Linked DNA regions of Homo sapiens: region 1 is linked to region 2. Evidence: promoter capture Hi-C in 16 types of primary human blood cells and fetal thymus (Javierre and others, 2016). All regions are on one chromosome and are shown on one strand. The core of a region is centred on a gene start or on the middle of the fragment in contact, and the rest is flanking DNA. Distances in the headings are between cores, read along the strand shown. Region 1 holds the start of EIF3H (eukaryotic translation initiation factor 3 subunit H). Region 2 holds the start of DSCC1 (DNA replication and sister chromatid cohesion 1).

The links. Contacts are between HindIII fragments. The CHiCAGO score rates a contact against its expected background, and 5 or more counts as called.
Region 1: a fragment that was not itself captured here is called in contact with the fragment with the promoter of DSCC1 in region 2 in 1 of 17 cell types (non-activated CD4 T cells); the score reaches 6.7 in non-activated CD4 T cells.

What each region holds. Positions count from the first base shown.
Region 1 is chr8:116,753,962-116,756,917 of GRCh38, reverse strand. It overlaps EIF3H (eukaryotic translation initiation factor 3 subunit H), which reads left to right and starts at 1,095. Exons shown (of 8, transcript NM_003756.3): 1 at 1,095-1,252. The coding sequence starts at 1,121. The HindIII fragment of the contact is 4,157 bases long and covers 1-2,956 here.
Region 2 is chr8:119,854,219-119,857,506 of GRCh38, reverse strand. It overlaps DSCC1 (DNA replication and sister chromatid cohesion 1), which reads left to right and starts at 1,613. Exons shown (of 9, transcript NM_024094.3): 1 at 1,613-1,893. The coding sequence starts at 1,712. LOC105375728 (a long non-coding RNA gene) reads right to left here. Exons shown (of 4, transcript XR_928590.3): 2 at 2,705-2,832; 3 at 1,628-2,101. RefSeq lists a silencer at 1,462-1,521 and an enhancer at 1,632-1,941. The HindIII fragment of the contact is 2,867 bases long and covers 1,104-3,288 here.

The sequences.
Region 1 (2,956 bases), core at 199-2,698, 3.1 Mb after region 2:
TTCTTCTTTTTGTGAATGTTCTGTTACCAATTTCTAGTGTAATTTTACCAGGATCAACCTTTAAAACCTCTAAATTTGTGGACTTTCTGTGTGACCTAGGGTTTGGTGTATTTTAATAAATATTTCATATACACTTGAAATGAGTGGATATTAACTTTTCATTTTGTAGTGTTAAGAATTTGTAACATGTAACTATTTCTCCTCCCAGATTGAAATATAACACCAGATCCCAATGACAAAACAACAAAAAACTTCAGGGCAGGATATGCCGTTTATTGATTTAATTATTTCATCAGTTCTGTATACATATTTATTGAATAAACATTTCAAAAATAAGGGATAGGAAAAAAGTCATTTGGAAGTAGAAAAGAATGTTTCAAATTACTTATCTAAAATGGCTTCTTACAGTTGTCATATATTCTTTTAAGGACTTGAGATGTGTATTTCAGAGTAATGTGTCATAAATCAGCGTGATTTTTAGAAAATATATTCTGTATCATCCTTCAACAATACCTCAGATAACTTCTTTGGTACTTTACTCAGGTAAATCTCTACATGAAGCTAATAGCAAAAGGCTACTATTTCTGGTAATTCTGATAAAAGTTTCTATGTCTTAATTTCTATATAATCTAAGTGGTTACAAGCAGCTATCTAAAATTACGTAAAACAAGCTGTGCAATACTGGCTCATCGCTAATTAACAGAATAATGTCGGACAAATCACTTATCAGTTTTCTAATATGCATAATGCGAGTTAGTACAGCACTTCATTGCAAGATCAGAAATGAAAGCATTTTTACATAAGAGACACTACAGAAATAATGCGAACTGTAATGCTATTATGACGGTTTGCCTAGTGGTGAATGATTAAACATTTAAAAAGTTTACTTTCATCTTAGATCATTCCATCGGAAAGAGGTCGAAAATGTACAGTAGGCATGCACAAAGGATACCGCCTGGAAAGAAGGTAAAACTGGAAAACAGGAGGGAGGCGGGGCCCAATTTTGGCTTCTCCTTCCGTCTCCGCCCCTCGAACGCCGGCCTGCGAGTGACGTCACGCGAGACTTGTACTTCCGCTTCCGGTAACTCACGTTTCTCTTTCTTCCTGTCTGCTTGGAAAGATGGCGTCCCGCAAGGAAGGTACCGGCTCTACTGCCACCTCTTCCAGCTCCACCGCCGGCGCAGCAGGGAAAGGCAAAGGCAAAGGCGGCTCGGGAGATTCAGCCGTGAAGCAAGTGCAGATAGATGGCCTTGTGAGTGCTGTTCTTTTTCCTCTGGCCCACGTGGGGAGCGCAGTTCCCAGCCCCGTCCCACCAGACGTACTTTCTAGCATTCTCCCCCTTGGGCTTGGTGTGGCTGGGCCAAAGTTTTTCCCTAGTACGTTTCTCTTTCATCTTCACTTTTTGTTCAGGAGCTTCGACAGCCTTCTCTTGTCTTCTAACGGGACAGTTGGGGCTTCAGGAAGGGGACTGAGAATAGGGGTGTGAGTGACAGGTTCCTGGGGTCTTGTTTTGAGATGACCGGTGGGGGGATTTGAAGAAAGACTCCTGGAGACCAGCAGCTAACGAAGGTGTCGAGAAGGATTTAGGGACCTAGTAGGGCTCTGGGAAGGAGAGAGTAAGGAAACTCCACTGATTCCCTGCTGGGATCTGACATCTATAACGTTCCAAGTGGAGATGTACTTTGTAGCCACTCTTTTGAGCCTGTACTTCGGCGCTTTATCTGAAACCGTATAATTTAGAATACTCTTTTGTAGTGTTCATTCTGAAAAACATAAAAGAATATCAAAGAGAAGGGCCTTAAATGTATTTAGTAGTTAAGGTTCATGAACTAGGACATCCAAGGAAATTCTTGATAAGGAAATGGACTTAGCTGGGAAGAGGAAAATCTAGAATGAGAAATTTTATTTCTGTTGTTTCGAAGCAAAATGCATTTATATGACGTTCTAGTTTTAAAAGTATCCTTCCTGCCCTCTTTTTAAAAAGCATCCTCTCTTCCTTTGATTTTTTTAAAGGTTATTTCCTATTAATGCAGATCTTAGATATTTGTAATAAGAAAGTACTTTTAAATTCATGTGAAAATTGTAATTGCAAGCAGGTATTTTTAAGTGGAAACTGTTGATAATTTAAACGCAGCATATAATTGAATCTGTTGAACTGACTTAGTTAAACTGGATACAAGAGTGTAGCCTGGTGGTTAAGAGCTCATTCAGTCTTCTAGGCTCTTCCACTTAACCAGCTCTGTGACTTTAAGGCAAGTTAGCCTTTCCAGGCTTTGCTTTCCTCATCTGTCAAGTGGGAATGAGAAGTATCTGTATCATAGAGTTGTTTGGATTAAATGAAAAAGTTTATGTGGTGACCTGTAGTACAGTGTAATCACTTAATGTTAATTATGATTATTATTATGAGTTTAATGTCTGTGGTTAGCAGAGTTTGAAAGATGCAGGCAAGAGATTAACTTTGGAATGTTTTGTTCTAAATGTCACTTGTGTAATACTTTGAAAATGCAGGCCGGGCGTGGTGGCTCACGGCTGTAATCCCAGCACTTTGGGAGGCCGAGGCGGGCGGATCAGGAGGTCAGGAGTTCGAGACCAGCCTGACCAACATGGTGAAACCCCGTCTCTACTAAAAACACAAAATTAGCCGGGCATGTTGGCACGCGCCTGTAATCTCAGCTACTCAGGAGGCTGAGGCGGGAGAATCGCTTGAACCTGGGAGGCGGAGGTTGCAGTGAGCCGAGATTGTGCCACTGCACTCCAGCCTGGGCAATAGAGCGAGCCTCCGTCCAAAAAAAAAAAAGAAAATGGAGTACTATCTGGCCTGTGTACTGGCACTGTGGCTTTCCCTGGCTCATGGGAGGCAGATGTGTGTTCAGGAATAAATGACGTATCTTTAGAGATTGCAAATCTCTAAAGTTAGTGGGTGGACTTAGATTACACTTGTTAAAATAAGTACCAC
Region 2 (3,288 bases), core at 364-2,863:
TCTTATGAGAGGAACACAGGTCCAGCTCCCTGACAGAATATCAAATTAATGGCAATAATTTCATACCATTAATTGGAAATTAAATTCATAATGATTAATACATAAAAACAAAAAGAACTGCTGCCATTTATTAAGCAGCCATGCATTTTAGAATGTACATCTTAAGAATGTAGGTCTTATGTGCTTTTTTATCGATAAGGAAGTTGTACTCAGAGAAATTAGGTAAATTGCCTTAGGTCACAAAGTTCTGAAGAGAGTTGGGATTCGCAGCCATGCCTGTCTGATGTAAATGTCAGGGTTCTAGTTGACACTGCTTCTAGTTGTAGGGAATGTTTCCCATTTAATAGAGCAACTACAATGGTTGATTCCCTTCAATAATAACTTCTTATCAGGCAACCACTGTCACATTCAGGATTTCATTCCACCGAATTCCTATGCATTCAAATGTAAAAGAGGCTAGTGAAGAAGTAGGTCACATGAACCAATCTTTCCACCACCAACGAAAGCACTGCCCAGACTCCTGGGATGCCCTACTCTGGTATTTTCGTATCATTTTACCCAAGAATTGAAAAAAATGTCTGCTCAGATCCTTTGAATTCAACACCTTACCCACCACTTTCTTTCACTTCAAGCAAGGTCTGATTTGCACTAACTAGTAGGAGGTCACCATCTCTTAAGTGATTCCTCCCAGACTATTTTAGCTCTCAGGGACAGCCAGGGCCCTCAACGATTCCCTAAGCATCTCTGGGAAAGTTTACACATTACGCTGTTACAAGCAATTCATGTATGTGTGCATAGTGAAAACCTTTTCTCTTAAAACTCTTAATACTGAAGTTCCCCAAACCTTTGGAAAATGTACAAGTCACAGATGCTCCTGTGACTTGTTTTTCCCTTCGGGTGCGTCCTCAACCTTGCTTAAATAAACCTCTATTGAACGAGACCTGCATCAGTCACTTTTCGGTTAACACTAGGTATTCAACGAATAGACTAGTCCCGCCGTTGTCTCCAGATATGATGGTGCCCTGACCCAAAGAAGCGAGATACTCCTTCCCAGGGCCTCGCTCCCGAGCATGGGTTATTTGCACAAAACCCCGCAGGAAGCTTTTAGAGCCACAGTCGGCTAGGCTGGAGTCAGACTCTGTTACCTCCTGACTCTGCCATCACGAGCAAGGAGCCTGCTTCCTCATTGGCAAAAGGGAATGACCAAGGCACCACCTTACAGGGTTGTGGCAACGGGCTCATGGAATTATACATGCCAAGTGGTTATCACAGGGCCCGCCACTGGCGGAAGGTGAGACAATGTGGACGGCGAGGAAATGGGAGCATCGGCTGGAAACCAGGGACGGAGATCGGGGATGGGGGGCGGGCAAGGGGACAGCGGAAAGGGTGGGCGAGGGATCCGTGTCCCAACCCGCCGAGTCGCAGCTCTGCCCCTGCGAGCTTCCGCCGAGACCGCCCCCCGGGAAGCCGCGTTTCCTTCCTGCAGTCGCGGTCCGGCGTGGGGCACGGAGGGGCTCGCGCTCCCAGAAGCCGGCAGGCCTTCCCGCGGGCGGGCCCGCAGCGCGCTCCGCCCCGGAAACACGCCCATGGCCGCCTTGGCGCGCTTTCAAACGCTCAGGTTTCCTACCTTCCGGCTGCTTGGGAACTTCTTTCTTGCCCGCCAAGCCCGCAGCCACCCGGGCGCGGCGGGACTCCTAGACCCGGCGCTGCGATGAAGAGGACCCGCGACGAGGTGGATGCGACGCTGCAGATCGCCAAGCTGAATGCGGCCGAGCTGCTGCCGGCGGTGCACTGCCTGGGCTTCGGCCCTGGGGCCAGCGGCGCTGCAGCCGGCGACTTCTGCCTGCTGGAGCTGGAGCCCACGCTGTGCCAGCAGCTGGAGGATGGACACAGGTGAGCCCTGGTCACGCGGCGCCCCCAGCCTCTGGCCGGCCACGTTATTTTCTCAGCGGGGAAAGTCGGGATAAGAAAACAGGGCCAGAGAGATGCACTGACCTGGCCGGGGGCTCATAGCAAGCTGCCTGTTCCCGAGGAGTCCACGCCTCCGGTGGGCCGTCCAGTTAGCTGCACTGCGGTGATGAGTAGCACTGGTCCAGCTGACCTTGGAGGCATGTGTCAGCGGGAGCAAGTCAGGAAATACTAATACAACCTCCGTGAAGTTTTTGAAGAGTTACCGGTGATTACAGGGACTCTACAGGACACCTGTCACTCTACCTTAAAATACAGTGGTGATACCCAATGTTTATAGAACTCTTGCCTTCCACTTATATTTATTTTACTCAGATGATAGATAGGAAGTGCTGGGAATCAGCTTACAGACTTGGTAATTGGGTGAGACCCCTACCCACCCCGAAGCAAACTTGCTTAGTAGGGATCTGAAGCTGTTTCTAATTCCAGGTCAGATACAAACTTGCTGCAAGATCATTGATTAGAAGTCGAAGTTGAGGTAGTTTTTTAAAGGCAGTCTTGAGAAGTCTAGAGAATCGTTATATCCCTCCACCCTGTGCAGCCCCAGCTCCTGCAAAATAGGGAGCTCCAGCTTGATTCTCTTTTGCACAATTGGTCCTCCGACACCTATATTTTATTAGGCTATTTTTTCTCTTTTTTCTTAATGGAATCCTTTAGGCTGTCTTTCAGTTTTCGTACTTTGCCCACCAAAGAGTGTTAGAGTAAACTGGCCATTCTTCAGATACCTGCTATATACCTCAAAGTACCTTTAAGGGAACTGAAAGAACTTCACTAGTCTGTTTCCATCCCGGTTCAGTTGGTGGAGAGTTGAGAAAGGAACTCAGGTGTGAGGACTTTCTCTCGGTCCAGTTCTAGTTAATCTAGCTGGCAAAAACAAAACAAAACAAAAACAAAAAAATAAAAACAGGCCCTGGAAACGTGTGTTTTTAATTTTGGGGTGTAGGGAGTGATGGTATAAACAAAATATTTCAAAGTGGGGGTAGTGCAGTTAGAGAAATAAATGTTAAAGACTAGGTACTTGGGCCTATTAAGCATTATTAGCATTAGGAATCTAAAAAACCTTTTATTCTTTTTACTTAAATGAAGACTTAGTCAAAAATAAATACACAGTCTGCTATTTCAGGTTTCTTATTATTTATTCAAAAGAAACGAGTTGTGCACAGGAGAATTAAATGCTTTACAGACAAGGAAAACTGCTAGAACCAACTCCCCTGTCATTGCCATCATCTTTGTCTTTAATCCTTCCTTTTCCTCCGCTTCACCTTCATCCTTTCCTCTTCCTTCTTTTTTCTTTATCTTTTTTTTGGGGAGAGAGTGGTG